2 separate regions of the Homo sapiens genome follow, and region 1 is linked to region 2. Evidence: promoter capture Hi-C in 16 types of primary human blood cells and fetal thymus (Javierre and others, 2016). All regions are on one chromosome and are shown on one strand. The core of a region is centred on a gene start or on the middle of the fragment in contact, and the rest is flanking DNA. Distances in the headings are between cores, read along the strand shown. Region 1 holds the start of KRTAP10-4 (keratin associated protein 10-4). Region 2 holds the start of KRTAP12-1 (keratin associated protein 12-1).

The links. The method cuts DNA at HindIII sites, captures the fragments that hold promoters and counts their contacts. A CHiCAGO score of 5 or more calls a contact.
Region 1: the fragment with the promoter of KRTAP10-4 here is called in contact with the fragment with the promoter of KRTAP12-1 in region 2 in 1 of 17 cell types (naive CD8 T cells); the score reaches 5.2 in naive CD8 T cells.

The regions. Positions count from the first base shown.
Region 1 is chr21:44,571,826-44,576,540 of GRCh38, forward strand. KRTAP10-4 (keratin associated protein 10-4) reads left to right here and starts at 1,904. Exons shown (of 1, transcript NM_198687.2): 1 at 1,904-3,546. The coding sequence starts at 1,934. The coding sequence ends at 3,139. The region is part of intron 1 of TSPEAR (thrombospondin type laminin G domain and EAR repeats); the gene reads right to left. RefSeq lists enhancers at 2,119-2,636, 2,637-3,155. The HindIII fragment of the contact is 4,220 bases long and covers 1,388-4,715 here.
Region 2 is chr21:44,679,571-44,684,133 of GRCh38, forward strand. KRTAP12-1 (keratin associated protein 12-1) reads right to left here and starts at 2,593. Exons shown (of 1, transcript NM_181686.2): 1 at 2,006-2,593. The coding sequence starts at 2,553. The coding sequence ends at 2,263. All of the region lies in intron 1 of TSPEAR (thrombospondin type laminin G domain and EAR repeats), which reads right to left. The HindIII fragment of the contact is 12,382 bases long and covers 1-4,563 here.

The sequences.
Region 1 (4,715 bases), core at 654-3,153, 110 kb before region 2:
TAGACACACAGAAGAGCGGGACAGCTCCTCCTCCCGGGAGAATTTCAATTAGTAAGTGTGGAAGGAACAAGGCAGGGAGGAGAATCCTCAACAGAGCCCCACAGGGACCGTGCGGGCGAGGCCCCCGGAGGGGCACCAGCACTGCCGGGCAAACGCCTGGGCAGACGCAGGACAGCTGCCAAGTCTCAGACATGACCAATTACAGAGGGAAACGGCGGCACCGCGAGGGATGGGCCGCGGCCGTGTCACCTCCATGCCCCACGCACACTGCTCCTGTGGGATTCCTCCCCCAACGCGATGCCCACTCTGACCACGAGGAAACCTCAAGCAAGTCCACGTGGAGGGGCATTCTACAAAACACCCAACCGGTCAAGGTCGCTGAGGCCAAGGAGAGATTGGGCAACCGTCACAAACCAGAGAAGTCGAGGAGACCTTTCAGCCAACGCCATGTGGGGTCCTGAGCAGGACCCACCGGAAGTTGGTGCAGCTGCCTAAAGACCGTCCTGGCTGAGAAGAAACAGAGCAGCGCTGCTTTCTCAGAGCTGGGAACCAACCTGCGGTGGTGTCGGGAAGCTGGCAAAGGGCGATGTGAACCCCGCTTTTCAGCCACTATTCCCTAAAACCATTCCACGAGGTCAAGCCACACCTCACAAGCAAAGGCTGCTGAGTGCCCAGTGCTGGGCACCTGCTGTCCTGTGCTACCCTCGCCACCCCCCATGCTCCACCTGCCCCAGGCCCAAGTCCACAAGAAACACTTCTGCCGTGCTTGCCTTCCCATCCCGGGTTCTGCTCCCGTGCCCACGTCCTCATCCCAGGTTCTGCCATTGTGTCTGCTTGCTGTGGATTGAATTGTGTCCCTCAAAAGGTGCCGAAGTCCTGACCGCTGGTACATGTGAATGTGACCCTATATGGAAATAGGGTCTTTGTAGGTGATCAAGTTAAGAGGAGGCTGTTAGGATAGGCCCTACTGCAATAATGCTTTGTATCCTTATAAAAAGGGGAGATTTGGACACACACACACACACACACACACACACACACACACACACACACACACACACGGAGAAGCTGTGTGAAGATAAAGGCAGAGCTCAGGTGAGGCCACTGTAAGCCAAGGACCCCAAAGATAGCAGCAGCCCACAGGAGTGAGGGGAGCGGGGTGAGACAGTGCCCCTCGCAGCCTCAGAAGGAACCCATGCTGTCCACTGTCCACACCTCGATCTCAGACTTCTGGCTTCCAAAACCATGAGACACGGAATTTCTGTTGTGTGACCAGCCAGTTTGTGGTACTGTTTGTCATGGCAGCCCAAGGAAAAGAATACATTACAGCATACAAACCATGACTCACATTATCTTTACTTAGAACCCAAACAAACCTCTCTCCCTAAGCTTTCAATCACAGAGGCACATGATCTTGTTCAGCAGCCTAGAAAACCAAGGCCCAGCGGAGCCACCCGTAGGCACCCACTCCCCATAGCCTGGCACACACACACGGCAGAGCCACCCACAGGCACCCACTCCTCATAGTCCAGCACACACACGGCAGAGCCACCCGCAGGCACCCACTCCCCATAGCCCGGCACACACGTGGACCATGCCACCCTCCACGTGCGCCTGGGGAGCAAAGCAGCACAGCCTGAACTGCCCCTCAGCTCTTCCTCCTGAGTCTAAAACACGCACATGCGCCCCAGGCCAATTCCAAGTTTTGTAAACTGAGCAACAGCTCTTGGGAAACAAAAACACAGCTACTGTTTATTCTCCTGGAGCTGGCTGTACACCCCAACAAGGAAGGGAGGGCTTGCTGAGCCTCCTGTCTGGACAACATGCACCAAGGAGGAGTATAAAAGCCCCACAAACCCGAGCACCTCACTCACTCGCTCACCCACTCCCTCCCATCTCCCCCAGCTCAACCCCCAGCACAGCAGCATCCACCATGTCCGTCTGCTCCAGCGACCTGAGCTACAGCAGCCGCGTCTGCCTTCCTGGTTCCTGTGACTCTTGCTCCGACTCCTGGCAGGTGGACGACTGCCCAGAGAGCTGCTGCGAGCCCCCCTGCTGCGCCCCCAGCTGCTGCGCCCCGGCCCCCTGCCTGAGCCTGGTCTGCACCCCAGTGAGCCGTGTGTCCAGCCCCTGCTGCCCAGTGACCTGTGAGCCCAGCCCCTGCCAATCAGGCTGCACCAGCTCCTGCACGCCCTCGTGCTGCCAGCAGTCTAGCTGCCAGCTGGCTTGCTGTGCCTCCTCCCCCTGCCAGCAGGCCTGCTGCGTGCCCGTCTGCTGCAAGACTGTCTGCTGCAAGCCTGTGTGCTGTGTGCCCGTCTGCTGTGGGGATTCTTCATGCTGCCAGCAGTCTAGCTGCCAGTCAGCTTGCTGCACCTCCTCCCCCTGCCAGCAGGCCTGCTGTGTGCCCATCTGCTGCAAGCCTGTCTGCTCTGGGATTTCCTCTTCGTGCTGCCAGCAGTCTAGCTGTGTGAGCTGTGTGTCCAGCCCCTGCTGCCAGGCGGTCTGTGAGCCCAGCCCCTGCCAATCAGGCTGCATCAGCTCCTGCACGCCCTCGTGCTGCCAGCAGTCTAGCTGCCAGCCGGCTTGCTGCACCTCCTCCTCCTGCCAGCAGGCCTGCTGCGTGCCCGTCTGCTGCAAGACTGTCTGCTGCAAGCCTGTGTGCTCTGAGGATTCCTCTTCATGCTGCCAGCAGTCTAGCTGCCAGCCGGCTTGCTGCACCTCCTCTCCCTGCCAGCAGGCTTGCTGTGTGCCTGTCTGCTGCAAGCCTGTGTGCTGCAAGCCTGTCTGCTCTGTGCCCATCTGCTCTGGGGCTTCCTCTCTGTGCTGCCAGCAGTCTAGCTGCCAGCCAGCTTGCTGCACCTCCTCCCAAAGCCAGCAGGGCTGCTGCGTGCCCGTCTGCTGCAAGCCTGTGAGCTGTGTGCCTGTTTGCTCTGGGGCTTCCTCTTCATGCTGCCAGCAATCTAGCTGCCAGCCAGCTTGCTGCACCACCTCCTGCTGCAGACCCTCCTCCTCCGTGTCCCTCCTCTGCCGCCCCGTGTGCAGGCCCGCCTGCTGCGTGCCCGTCCCTTCCTGCTGTGCTCCCACCTCCTCCTGCCAACCCAGCTGCTGCCGCCCAGCCTCCTGCGTGTCCCTCCTCTGACGCCCCGTGTGCTCCCGCCCAGCCTGCTGAGGCCTCCGCTCAGGTCAGAAGCCCAGCTGCTGATGGACACGCCCCCCAGTGCCAGCCAGGCTCAGGTCCCACCTGAAAGCTGATAGTCGCGTCCTGAATTGCTCCTGCACTTTGACCATTTCCTGGTGTCTGCTGTTGAGCTGGACAATGGAAGAACTGAAAGTCTATACTCAATGCTGCAGCCCTCTTGCGGGGGGAGGGGGGCGCTTCTAGAAAGTTCCCATGGCAGTGGCCTCCCCTCCATATCTCCCACCTCTCATGAGGGTCAGTTCAGCCTTGACCCGTGAGGTCTCTGTCCTCCTGGCTCAGAGCCGCAGAGCCTTCTTTGGACGCCCTCAAGCTGACCAATAAAGGCCCTGAGACTGCAATGGCGCTGACACCCAGGTGTGTTGATTAATGCCTTGGCTGGAGCTCACGGCCATGGTTTTCTCCTTTGTGCACAACCCTCTGCTGTCCTTCAGGCCCCTGAGTGTTTTCCTGTGCCCAGGGGCGTGTGGTTCCCAGGGGTCCAGGCTAGACGGACATGGACGCGGGGAGCCTTGCAGCCCTTTGGCCATTTCGGGCCCTTGGGTTTGTCCCTAACCCTCCTGTGTTGTTAGTCGTGTCATAGTTCTTTTTGCTGATTTGCTTTTTAAATTATCCTTCTGCTGCACAATACTTGTCAAATAAGAATGGTGTCTTCTAGCGCCATGCTTGCCCAGAGTGTGTCCAAATGCCTCCCTAGCTTCAAAATCAGTAGTCTTCATCGACATTGCCTAAAACCTCTTGTGCCCTGTGCAGACATCACTGGCATGGTGGGAGGAACACAGACAGGCGATTGGAATTGGGTCTCTGTCGCTTCGCTTCCACCCTGTGTGAGCAGAATCATCTCCTCGACCCTCCGGCCTCTCTAAGGTCAGGGAAGTAGGACTCCCTCTTTCAGGTTTCCAAATGGAGTGGCAAGAACGACAGACAGAGCACGTGTGACCACCATGAGCCCAGGGCCAGCGGACTGCCCAGAGCAGGATGGTCTGAGGAGTTTTGGGCATTTTAAGAAGTCTTTAAAAATTATATTTGGAATAATGATGTGTTGTAACCACTGGAAGAAGTGCCAACTATTCCAATGGTTATAAAACATACTCATAAAGCAATGACGATAAGATCAGAAAGAATTTCCATGCACAGGTGTCAGAGGGTGGCCCGGGAACTCAGCCGCAGTGGAGGTGGAGTTGTGAGGACAGACCCAGAGCACTGGCCACACGGAGTCACAGTCCCGGAGTGGAAGGGAGTGCATAACTCATGGGTGAACAGACACACGGATGTCCCAGGGTGGGTGAGGGGGCATAACTCATGGGTGAACAGACACACGGACGTCCCAGGGTGGGTGAGGGGGCAAACCTCATGGGTGAACAGACACACGGACGTCCCAGGGTGGGTGAGGGGGCAAACCTCATGGGTGAACAGACACACGGACGTCCCAGGGTGGGTGAGGGGGCAAACCTCATGGGTGAACAGACACATGGATGTCCCAGGGTGGGTGAGGGGGCAAACCTCATGGGTGAACATG
Region 2 (4,563 bases), core at 1,343-3,842:
AAGGACCCTGAATAGCCAAAGTTATCCTGAACAAAAAGAACAAACCTGTAGGTATCACACCGCTTGACTTCAAAATATATTACAAGGCTAAACAGCATAGTATTGGTATAAAACCAGACACATAGATCAATGGAACAGAATAGAGAACCCAGAAATAAATCCATATATTTACAGCCAATTGATTTTCAACAAAGGTGCCAAGAACATACAATAGAGAAAGGACACCCCTTCAATAAATGGTGCTGGGAAAACTGGATAGCCACATGCAGAAGAATGAAACTGGATCCCTACCTCTCATCATATACAGAAATCAACTCAAGATGTATCAAAGCCTTAAACATAAGACCGAAAACCATAAAGCTACTAGAAGAAAACATAAATGAAATGCTCCAGGACATTGGTCTAGGCAAACAGTTTATGGCTAAGACTACAAAAACACAGGCAACAAAAACCAAAATAGACAAATGAGATTATATTAAACTGAAAAGCTCTGCACAGCAAACGGAACAATCAACAGAGTGAAGAGACAACCTGTGTAATGGGAGAAAATATTTGTAAACTATGCATCTGACAAGTGACTAATATCCAGAATATGTAAGGAACTCAAACAACTCAACAACAACAACAAAACAAATAATTCCATTAATAAATGGGCAAAGCACCTGAATAGGCATCTCTCAAAAGAAGACATACAAATGGCCAACAGGTATATTAAAAAAAACTCAACATCACTAATCATCAGGGAACTTCAGATCAAAACTACAATGAGATAGCATCATCTTACCCCAATTAGAATGGCTATTATCAAAAAGACAAAAAATAACAGATGCTGGTAAAGATGTGGAGAAAAGGGAACTCTTATACATCATTTGTGGAAGTGTAAATTAGTACAGCCATTATCAAAAACGGTATACAGATTTCTCAGAAAACTAAAATAAAACTACCATACTATCCAGCAATCCTGCTACTATTTATTCAAAGGATAGGGAATTGGTGTATCAAAAAGATACCTGCACCCCCATGTTTATTGCAGCACTATTCACAATAGCCAAGATACAGATTCAACCTAAATGTCTATCAATAAATAAATGAATCAAGAAACTGTGGTATATATTTACAATGGAATCTTATTCGGCCATAAAAAAGAATGAAGTCCTGCCATTTGCAGCAACATGGATGGAACCGAAGGTCATTAAAGACAAATATTACATGTTCTCACTCACATGTGGGAGTTCACAAAGTTGATCTCATGGAAGTAGAGAGTAGAATGATATTACCAGAGGTGAAGAACGGTGTGTGTTAGAGGAGAAGTGAGTTTGGTTAATGGGTACAAACATACAGTTACACAGAAAGAATAAGTTCTAATATTTGATAGCAGCATAGGGTGACTACAGTTAACAATGTATTGTATGTCTCAAATCAGCTAGAAGAGAGAGTGTAAAATGTCCTCAACACAGAGAAATGATAGACAAGGTGATGAATATCCTGATTTCATCATTACGTATCCTCTGTGTGTAAAGTATTTCATATGCCCCATAAATATGTAAACATATTATGTATCAATTTTTAAAAAGTGCCATATGTAGATCAGTGATGGGAGTGTGTGCTGCAGAACTAATCCAGTTCTGTAAACCTGAGATCCTCCGCGACCCGGGAAGCAGGACATCCACCAACCACATGGGAAAGCCCGATCCTCAGTGCTCTGAGGCTTTGGCCATCAATGCAGGGCTTGCTGGCCTGGAGCAGGAGTGGACAGCCAGTGGGGAAGCGAGGCCACTCCACCACAGGCGGGTAAGTCACCGCTGTGGCCACTGCAGCTGGGCCCCAGGAGCCCTGGGAGAGACCACATGGGCATCTGCAGCCGCGCCCTCCACCCGGGACACCACCTTCTGATGAGCACTGGGTGAAGGGATCACTGAAGAGGGTTTAGCAGCAAATTCTATGTAATCAGCAGAATAGATAGCGGGGAGTATAGAAATAAAAAAGAGAGACAAGAAACGCAGAGTTGCATGGGGAAAGCTGGTTTATTTGACTCTCATGGGGTCAGAGAATGACTCTGGGACCCCAGACTTCCCTGGGGGGATAGGCAAGTTCAGCCAGGGCTCCAGATCATTCTATTATATTCTCGATCCAGAATTCAGAGGGTTCACTGAGCATGCTTTTCACCTGCACCATGTGCAGAAGACCAACTGAGGACTCATCCAGGGAGTGTACAGGTGTGGCCTCATCTGCACTGGGAGCAGCGGGTCTGGAGATTCATGCTCAGCAGCAGGAAGGGGTGCTGCAGGAGATGGGTCTGCAGAGGACGCTGGTGCAGGAAGGCTGGCAGCACCCAGAGGACTGGCAGGAGGGAGCCGCATACACGACGGGCCTGCAGCTCACGGGCACGCACACAGAGGACTGGCATCTCACGGGCACACACACGGCTGGCTTGAAGCTCACGGGCACGCACACGGAGGACTGGCAGCCCACGGGGATGTAACAGGATGCCTGGCAGGGGCTGGGCGCGCAGCAGGCTGGCTGGCAGCCCGAGGAGCAGCTGGTGTGGCACATGGTGGCGTGTGGCTGGATAAGGTCGAGGCAGAGGGCAGTGATGTCTGGGGATGGCCTCCCTGGGTAGCCTTTATACCTGGACCCAGGCATCCCCACAGCACAGAAGCACACACCTGTTGTCTTCCTTGTTTTTCTTCCTCAAGGCTGTTTCCTGGAACTCAGTTTTCTGTCGTAGATGATGTTTTTTATCTGGCCCTTTGTTTCGTGACTAATTGCACCCTCTTCAAGCTCTTGTTACATTTGGAAACCTGCCCAAATTTATCAGTGATGCACAGGCAGTTTTAGCTCCACCTGCCTGATATCTGCCTCCCTTCGTTAGTTCTACGCTGAAGCAGACATGAGTGGTACCCAAAAGAGCTCCTCGAACCGCAACTTCTGTTGCATCAACCAGAAACTTTGGGGAAGAGACCAGAACTGAATATAGACAATGAAATCATACTGGGGAACCTGCTGGAGTGAGTGATGCAAAGCTGGCTACTCTATCAACTATACAGTTGAGATTTAGGAGATGCTCGTTTTCAGGCAGCCGTCAACCAGCAGTGCAGACTGTGCTTCCTGAGAGAGAAGAAACTTAGGAGATAAACTCCCATTTCCCAGCTCTCTGCTGGGGCAGGCTTCCAAAATGCAGTGTCACCTTCCAAAATGCAGTGTCACCAGCCGGAGTCAGAGCAGAATACAGTGACCCAACTCTGCCGAGGAGGAAGGGGCCAGCGCTCAAGCAGCTGAAGCCCTGGAGTCCGAGGAGCAGAGAAGCGGAAAGAAGGATCCGTGTGGAGAGCAGGCCCCACACTGTGGAAGCTGACTGTGAATCTGTGGAACGGGGCAGGGCTGTGCATTCCCAGGGCAAGGCAACCACAGGCTCACCAGAGAGAAGCTGCTAGAGGATTGAGAGTGAAGCCCCCCTCCAGTCCCCACGTCGACATCCAGCCGAGACCCCCTACAGCCCGGCACCAAATGAGTAAGGACCACAGACTACAGTGAGACCCGCCTAGGCCAGCCCGAACAAAGCCTAAACCAATTCAGAATAGGATTTTTAGGGAAGACAGTTTGGAATGTGAGTCCCACCAAGATACAGAGTGTTCCAAGTTGTAGATGCTTCCCAGAGATCCACCCTAGCAAAGTGTTGAACAAAAACTGCACAAGATTAAGGTCATTCTCCAGTAACTGACGGCTAGAACAAAAATCAGAAACATGATACAGCTCAGAGTCTGTAAATGCATTATTATGATACCTCATACACAATCAAAATCATCAGATATTGACCAGGCACGGTTGTTTATGCCTGTAATCCCAGCACTTTGGGAGACCAAGATGGGAAGATTGCTTGAGGCTAGGAGTTTCAGACCAGCCTGGGCAACATAGTGAGACTCTGTCTCTACAAAAAAATGGTTAAAAATTAGCCAGACATGGTGGTGCATGCTTGTGGTCCCAGCTACACGGTAGGTTGAGGCAGGAGGGTCTATTGAGCCTGGGAGGTTGAGGATGCCATGAGTTATGATCACACCACTGCATTCCAGCCAGGGCAACAGAGCAAGACCCCGTCTCAAAAAACAAATCATCAGATATTAAAAGATATAGGTAAATTTAATTCACTGTTAAAAAAAATAAACCTGATATGGTCTAGATATTGGACATGGCAAATGATGACTGTAAGCAGCTATTATAGACATCTTCCAAAAAATCCAAGAAAACTGTTCAAATAATTAAAGGAAAACATTGTCTTCATGAATGGATAAATAGGGAATCTCAGTAGAGTAATTGAAGCTATTTTTTAAAATGGGAATCCTAGAACTGAAAAGTACAGTAGTTAGAAATTTTAAATACACCAAATTTGACTTCAAAAATCAACAACGTCCAAATCCAGGAATCTCAGAAAGCCCCCAGTAGGATAAATAGGAAGAAAACCACATCCAGGCACATCATGAAGTGATGAAAACCAAAAATGAAGACAAAATCTCAAAAGCAGTGACAGGAAGACACTTTACATACAAAGGAACAAGGATAAGAAAA